Regions from separate parts of the Homo sapiens genome. Here region 1 is linked to region 2. The links are contacts of gene promoters, found by promoter capture Hi-C in blood cells and fetal thymus (Javierre and others, 2016). All regions are on one chromosome and are shown on one strand. Each heading gives the region's core, a stretch centred on a gene start or on the middle of the fragment in contact. The rest is flanking DNA. Distances are from core to core; before and after follow the strand shown.

Region 1 (4,150 bases), core at 368-2,867, 590 kb before region 2:
CTCGACCTCCTGGGCTCAAGTGATTCTCCCACCTCAGCCTCCTGAGTAGCTGGGACTATAGGTGCATGCCACCATCCATGGCTAATTTTCTGCTTATTTTTTGTAGAGATGAGGCTCCACTATCTTGCCCAGGCTGGTCTCAAACTCCTGAGCTCAAGTTATCCTCCTGCCTTGGCCTCCCAAAATGTTGGGGTTACAGGCGTGAGCCACCGCACCCAGCCCTGAGTTTTTTGTTTTGTTTTGTTGAGACAGAGTCTTGCTCCAAGGCTGGAGTGCAGTGGCACGATCTCGGCTGTCTACAATCTCTGCCTCCCGGGTTCAAGCGATTCTCCTGCCTCAGCCTCCTGAGTAGTTGAGACTACAGACACCCACCACCCCACCCGGCTAATTTTTGTATTTTTAGTAGAGATGGGGTTTCACCATGTTGGCAAGGCTGGTCTTGAACTCCTGACCTCGCATGATCCACCCGCCTCGGCCTCCCAAAGTGCTGGGATTACAGGTGTGAACCACCGCGCCTGGTCCCGTTGCTGTTGTTTTAAGCCACCTAGTTCGTGGTACTTTGTTTCGGCAGCCCCAGGAAACAGACTTCCCCACGTCATTTTCGGCAGCTCCGTCTCTCACATTTCATATCCATCCTGTGAGAAATCCTTCAACTGAGATCCAGAATCTGACCGCTGCTCCCTCCTCCCCTGCTGCCACCACCCTGGTCCCTGGCAGGGCTCTCATAATGCCTGGCAGCTCCTGCTCACCCCTCACTGAGCCAGAAGTTTGTCCACAAAACTGCTCCAAGACCACATCTTCCTCTGCCCCAAACCCTTCAGTGTCTCCCTTCTCAGAGCAAACCCCAAATCCTTCTGGTGGCCTCCCAAATCCCTGTCCAACCTGGCCTGTGACCTTGTCACCCCCAGCCCCTGCTGCTTGTCTGGCTGGGTCTTTCCCGAGTTGTTCCCTTTGCCGGGCAGGATGCTGTTTCCTGGACACGTGTGGGGTTCCCTCTCTGCTCCTTCACGGCTGTTCAAACATCACCTTCATCTGTGAGGTCAACTTGGCACTCTCCTCTCCTACCTGCCCTTATACTCATGGCATATGTCACCTTCTAACATACTATTTATTTATTTATTTATTTTTTTGAGATGGAGTCTTGCTCTGTCGCCCAGGCTGGAGTGCAGTGGTGCGATCTTGGCTCACTGCAACCTCTGCCTCTCAGAGTCAAGTGATTCTCCTGCCTCAGCCTCCCAAGTGGCTGGAATTACAGGCACCCACCACCAGGCCTGGCTAATTTTTTTGTAATTTTAGTAGAGACAGGGTTTTGCCATGTTGGCCAGGCTGGTCTCAAGTGATCTGCCCGCCTCGGCCTCCTAAAGTGCTGGGATTACAGGCATGAGCCACCACGCTTTGCCTAACATACTATTAATTTATTTATTTTAAAATTTATTTGTACTTTTTTTTTTATAGAGACAGGGTCTTACTCTGTCACCCAGGCTGGAGTGCAGTGGTGTAATCATAGCTCACTGCAGCCCCAGCCTCCCTGGCTCAAGCAATCCTCCCATCTCAGCCTCCCAAGTAGCTGAGACCGCAGGAGCCCACCCCCATGCCCAGCTAATTTTCAAAAATTTTTCGTAGAGATGGGGTCTTGCTATGTTGCTGAGGCTAGTCTGGAACCCTTGGTCTCCAGGGATCCTCCTACCTCGGCCTCCCAAAGTGCTGGGATTACAGGCATGACCCACTGCAGCTGGCCTTAACTTATTTATTTAATCTGAGCCTTACATGGTATATAAACTTGAAGAAAGAAAGGATTTTGCCTATTTTGTTCACTATTTCTACTTCTAACACCCAGAATACTACCCAGCACATAGCAGGTGTTCATTAAATATTGTTGAAAGGAAAGAGGGATGGCGTGAGGAAGGGAGAAAGGGTTACTTCCTCACACTTGTGTTGTAACCTCACAATGACTGGAATTAGGGGAGGGAACACAAGACTCTAAGGAACAAACTCAATGTCTGTCCAGACTGTCCAGAAGACCCCATAGGTCAGGACAAATGGCCCGGAAGCCCTGGTGTGAGACGTGGTGATGTCCAGGTGTCAGGAGGCAGGGGCCTCCCTCCCTGAATCCTGGAGAGAGGGACTGCGGTGTGGGCCCCTTCTGGCATGGCGGCCTCTTGGACATCAGATCGGGCAATTATCCATCCTTGGAGCAGAAAGCCACTGGCCTGGCTTCTGAGAGTGGTGCCTTGTTCTGTGTTGAGGAGGAAAGGTCAGAGGCTGGAGGCTGGGAGAGCAGGTGGGCTGTAGACAGTGTGGCAGGGGCTGAGGGAGCAAGCTAAGCTGGGTCCCATGTGGTAGTGGGCCAACGGGCCGAGGAGGCTCCAGGGTCATCAGGCAGGGAATGGGTCAGAGTCTCTTAAACTGAGCTACCCTAATCCCCAAGGGATCCATGGAGAGCATTGAGGTACTTGGATGGGAAAAATTACATCTTTATTTATGTATTTGTTTAGAGACAGGGTCTTGCTCTGTCCCCCAGGCTGGAGTGCAGTAGTGTGATCACAGCTCACTGCAGCCTCGAACTCCTGGGCTCAAGCGATCCTCCCACCTCAGCCTCCCAAGTAGCTGGTACCACAGGTGTCCATTGCCACACCCAGCTGACTTTTAAATTTTCTGTTGAGACGGGGTCTTGCTATGTTGCCCAGGCTGGTCTCAAACTCTTGGCCTCAAGCAATCCTCCTGCCTTGGCCTCTCAAAGTGCTGAGATTATAGGTGGCTAATTTTTTAAGAAAGTTTTTGTAGAGATAGGGGTCTTGCTGTGTTGCCCAGACTGGTCTTGAACTCCTGGCCTCAAGTGATCCTCCTGCCTTGGCCTCCCAAAGTGCTAGGATCACAGGTATAAGTCACCACACCTGGCTAATTAAAAAAAATTTTTTTTGTAAAGATGGGGTCTTGCTGTGTTGCCCAGGTTTGTCTCGAACTCCTGGCCTCAGGTGATCCTCTTGCCTCAGCCTCCTGAAGTGCTGGGATTATAGGTGTGAGCCAGTGTGTCCAGCACTATTTTATATTATGCTTTTGAAAACATTATTCTGAGAAGAGGGCTTGACTTGACTTAAAGGGGTTCATAGTGCCAAAAATTTCATCAGTAGGTGTTTTCCTTTATATAAAATTTCATCAGTAGGTGTTTTCCTTTATATATATATATATGTATGTATGTATGTGTGTGTGTGTATATATATATATATATTTATTTATTTATTTGTTGAGACGGAGTCTTGCTCAGTCACCCAGGCTGGAGCGCAATGGCGCGATCTCAGCTCACTACAACCTCTGCCTCCCGGGTTCAAGAAATTCTCCTGCCTCAACCTCCCAAGTAGCTGGGATTACAGGCACCCGCCACCATGCCCGGCTAATTTTTATATTTTTAGTAGAGACAGGGTTTCACTGTGTTAGCCAGGCTGGTCTTGAACTCCTGAGCTCAGGGTGATCCGCCCGCCTTGGCCTCCCAAAGTGCTGGGATTACAGGCCTCCCAAAGTGCTGAGATTACACCCTGTAAGTGTTTTCTAGAGAGGCCCACATAGGCAATGAGGGGTGATGGAGGACACTACTTTCTGGGGGCCTTAGAAGATCTAGGAGATGAAGTGCCAGGGCCCCAAGCCATCTGCATGCTGTGCCCAGTATGTCCAGCAGGTGGCAGTGTCTGACCGGCTATGCTTTCTGCAGGCTCCCAGCCTCTGCCAGGTGCACCGGGGGGCATGGCGGGCAGAGGGGCATGGATGGGCAGGGTCCTGGCATTGCAGCACCTGCCGACACACCTGCATGAACACACAGGCACACTGTACGCACACACATATACTCACATTCACATTGGTGAAACAGCCAAGCTGGCAACCAACTTCTAGAACCTTCAGCCCCTTCCAGGACAGAAGACATTCCTGGGACTCTGGCCCTTGAGAAATCTTTTCAGAAGAGGAGGTCACTTTTGTTTTGCCTCTTCTTTTTCTTGCCCAATAGCTTTTCCGAGAAATCTACAGGTCAGCATGAGTCAACAGCTACAGCCACAAGATAGTTTGACTGTGGGTTGAGGAAATGGAGATCTGTGTTCCAGCCTGGCTCTGTGACCTTGGGCCAGCCACTGAATCTGTCCAAGCTTTTGTTTTTTCATGT
Region 2 (4,151 bases), core at 787-3,286:
ATATTGAACTTTGTCACCACACATGAAAACTGCAAGGGGCCACAGAAAGCTCCTAATTCAATGCCTCTTTTTCATTTTTTTTCAATGCCTCTTTTAATGTGGAAACTAAAGCTAAAGAGGAGATAAATGGCTACAGAGTGTCACAGGCAGGACAGAACCCAGGGCTCCCTACCTCTAGACTGTTTCTCCAGCAGTCTAGCGACCACTCATCCTCCTTTTTTTTTTTTTTTTTTTTTTTTGAGACAGAGTTTTGCTCTGTTGCCCAGGCTGGAGTGTAGTGGCACAATCTCAGCTCACTGCAAGCTCCGCCTCCTGGGTTCACCTCATTATCCTGCCTCAGCCTCCCGAGTAGCTGGGACTACAGGCGCCCGCCACCACGCCCGGCTAATTTTTTGTGTTTTTAGTAGAGACGGTGTTTCACCATGTTAGCCAGGATGGTCTCATCTCCTGACCTCATGATCCACCCGCCTCGGCCTCCCAAAGGGCTGGGATTACAGGCGTGAACCACTGCGCCCGGCCCACTCATCGTCCTTCTGCTAATAGCACCCTGATCTTCCTCTGAGGAGCCACCCCCTGTGCCTGGCTGAGCCCTTATGCTTGAGGGGGGCTCTGCCCACATCTCCAGACCAAGTCCACAAATGCCAGTCCCTCAGGCCCAAGCTAAAGTCAGGGTCAGACACAGGACTCCACAGAGCCATCCGGGGTGAACAAGAGGCTTCTGGGGGCGTTTTCTTCCACTGGAGCTGGCCTGTGTGGGGCTTCCCCAAACATGAAGGCCCAGGAAAAGCCTGTGTGCAACCCCAGAAATGAGACAGAACTAGAGGGGGAGCAGGAATAGGTCCCTAGGTCCAACCAGGTGACATTGGTTTAGCTCAATGTCGGGTAGTATCTAGCCTTCCATCAGATGCCCTTTTTTTTCTTTTTTGAGAAGGAGTTTTGCTCTTGTCGCCCAGGCTGTAGTGCGGTGGCACAGTGGCACGATCTCAGCTCACTGCAACCTCCACCTCCCCAGTTCAAGCGATTTTCCTGCCTCAGTCTCCCGAGTAGCTGAGATTACAGGCATGCGCCACCACCCCTGGCTAATTTTGCATTTTTACTAGAGACGGGGTTTCACCATCTTGGCCAGGCTGGTCTCAAACCCCTGACCTCAAGTGATCCGCCCGCCTTGGCCTCCCAAAGTGCTGGGATTACAGGTATGAACCGCCGCACCTGGCCGACATCTTTCTTTTTTCTCCTTTCTCCATCCTAACCTTGCCAGTTTTCTGCCAGGCGGGATACAGTGTTTTCAAATCCCAGTTCCATCGCTTACAACGTGAGTCGCTCCATCTCTGAGCCCGTGTTCGCATTTGTAAAATGGGAATGACGCCGCCAGCTCTTTGGGTTGCTGGGAGGATGAAATGAGAAGACCCAAGTAAAGCACTTACGTCAGTGCCCGCCACCCCGGGAGGACTCGCATATTACTATTAATATATTAGGCCAGCTTACACTGGGTTTTGTCACTGACAATAGAGTTTGAGCAATCCAGGGCCTGTTACTGACACCACACCATGCTATAGTCACAAAATCACATATGCTTCCAGGACTCCTCCTCGAAAGAGTAAAGCTTTAAGTGTAGTGTGTGCTCAAGGGCTACGTTTCAGTTCGATGGATACCAGGAAGACACCTGTTCCCTGCGTCCTCTCCACGCCCCAGGCCGGGCGCCCACACCCTGCTCCTCCTGACGCCGCACAGCCACGCACCCAGGTACCCTCTCCGCCACCCCTTCTCCTCGCCTGCAGGCGGTGTCCACACCGCCCTCTCCGCTCCTGCAGACCGGGTCCTGGAGGGCGGCCGGGCGGTCCACGGGCCGGTGTCGCGCCGCCAGAGAGAACGCGGCAACTCGCTTCAGCCGACTCTGGACTCCTGACCTGGCGCGACCCCGGAAGTGGGCGGGCGCGCGACCTCGAAGCCAGCACCGACGCGGCGCACCGCAGCCAATCGCACGTCCCAGGTCGCAGCGTCCTGGCGAGGCTGGCCAATGGGCACGGGGCCTGATGCCGCTTCCGGCCCACCCTCTTGCCCGGTCCCCGGGAGGGCCGGTCCGCTCCTCCCGGACGCCGAGGACCTACCACCGCGACTTCGCCCCGCCCGGCGCGGGCCCAGGTGAGTGCAGAGTGGCGCCCCAGCTGCAGCGGCGGCCAGGGCCGTGGGAAAGAATGGGGCGATGAAGGGCTGGGCACGCCGCCTTCCCCACCACCCCCAGGCTGTTTGCTCGCGGGGAGGGAGGAAGGAGGGACCGCACTTGTCATCTCGCCTGCACACCTGGAAGGTGCCGCCCCCGTCCCCTGCCCTGGAACGCCCACAGGCTAGCGAAGTTGCCTGGTGCAGGTGACGCCCCCATTCCAGCCTTTGGACTGGAGCCATAGGAGAAGCGGATCGCGGGATCCTGGTTGTTTTCGAGAATCACGCAGCAAGGGGCCTGCCTATCCCTCTCCCTGGGTATTGATGGGAGCAAATCTGCTTGTCGTAAGATTAGCTTTGGCAGATGGTCAGGGCCCAGAGCTCCGACATATGCTACTGGTGGCAGTGCAGGGGCCCCACCTGTCACCCAAGTGCACAGCACTGGGCTGAACGCCAGGCTGACTCAGGACACCTCCTGCCCGGTGGGGCTGGGCGGACCCTATTCTTCAGGAAAGAATCAACTACCATGCAAGTTCTGCTGCTTTTTCCCACCTTTTAGGACCCTGATGTCGCTTTTGAACAGCCCCTGCACCTGGCAGCCAGCGAGCTACTGTAGTAGGCATTGCCGACTGTTTGCATACCGGATGGGAGTGACAGTGTAATAGAAAAACAAGCAAGAAACCTTTTAGGTAGGACTCCTAAGGCTCAGAGGAAGTAAGTGCTTGCGGAGCGTTCTTTGTACTGTGTCTTTTCCTCTACCACATCTCTGTCCCCGCCTCTCTTGGGTGCTTTTTTTGGTCTCTGAAAGGATCTGTGAATAAACTGAGACAGAAAGGCAGATGGCTTTGAGGGTGGCGAGCAGACCTTCTTCGTGGAAAGACTGAAGGTTCAACTCAAATTCATCTTGTAGAAATTCTTGGTGAATTCGAGGCTGCTGATTTGGAAGATTTTCCTCCATCCCTCTAACCCTACAAAACAAACAAGTCCCAGGATCCCTGAATCATGGGGCTTCATGTTCCAACCCCCCTTTCAAGAGTCCTCTGACCCAGTGACCCTGTGTAAGTTGCCTGATCAGCTCACAGCCAGAAAGTGGCCCATGAGGAGCTAGGGGGAGCCTCTTGGCAGAGGCAGAAAGAAAGTGTGGCTGACCAAGGATGGTTACCGGATGTCAACTGTAGCTAGGAAGTGACGACAGGTGCCTGGGTCTCTACTCTGAAGGGAGTTTGTAAATACAGCAACCCCCCACCCCTCCCTTTCACTGTAGCAGAGTCTTCTCCCATTAACTGCCCAGAAGATTCAATGATGTCTATGAGGAAATTAGTGCTTAGTCATTTATTTGAAGGAAAGTCAAAATCTCCTTTCATTGAGCTCAACCTGCAGACTGAGTCTAGCTAAACTGCTTGCTTATCCAGTGAATTCTGAGCTATCTTTGTTTTGTTGTTGTTGTTGTTGTTGTTTGTTTTCCTTTTTGAGACAGGGTCTCGCTCTGCTGCCCAGGCTGGAGTGCAGTGGCACAATCATAGCTCACTGTAGCCTCAAACTCCTGGGCTCAAGTGATCCTCCTGCCTCAGCCTCCCAAGTAGCTAGGATCACAGGCATGTGCCACCACACCTGGCTAATTTTTTTTTTAACTTTTTATTTTTACAGAGATGGGGTCTCCCTGTGTTGCTTAGGCTGGTTTTGAACTCCTCGGCTCAAGCGATCCTCCCACCTCAGCCCCGGAAAGGGCTGGGATTACAGGCATGAGCTACTGCACCTGGCCTCTGAGCTATCTTTGAAGGCTAACTTATATTTAACACTATAGAAAGTGACAATTAAAAAAAAAAACCTTCGTCTTCCCCTAGCATTTTATTGAGGATTTTCCCACATACAGCCAAGTTGAAAGAATTATACAGTCAGCATCCCCATCCCCACCAACTAGATTCTACTATTGACACTTTACTTGCTTTATCACATATCTGTCCACCAATTATGACCTTACTTTTCAAGTT

What was found. Contacts are between HindIII fragments. The CHiCAGO score rates a contact against its expected background, and 5 or more counts as called.
Region 1: a contact is called between a fragment that was not itself captured here and the fragment with the promoter of TECPR1 in region 2, in 1 of 17 cell types (megakaryocytes). The highest score is 5.7, in megakaryocytes.

What each region holds. Positions count from the first base shown.
Region 1 is chr7:98,841,466-98,845,615 of GRCh38, reverse strand. No RefSeq gene overlaps it. Among named protein-coding and RNA genes, the nearest start is that of TMEM130, 26 kb to the left of the region's middle. RefSeq lists an enhancer at 3,732-3,781. The HindIII fragment of the contact is 5,036 bases long and covers 1-4,135 here.
Region 2 is chr7:98,250,117-98,254,267 of GRCh38, reverse strand. TECPR1 (tectonin beta-propeller repeat containing 1) reads left to right here and starts at 2,036. Exons shown (of 26, transcript NM_015395.3): 1 at 2,036-2,142; 2 at 2,720-2,874. It overlaps LOC124901706 (a long non-coding RNA gene), which reads right to left and starts at 1,909. Exons shown (of 2, transcript XR_007060448.1): 1 at 1,740-1,909; 2 at 1-1,384. RefSeq lists silencers at 1,750-1,849, 1,940-2,329 and an enhancer at 1,646-2,389. The HindIII fragment of the contact is 5,193 bases long and covers 1,606-4,151 here.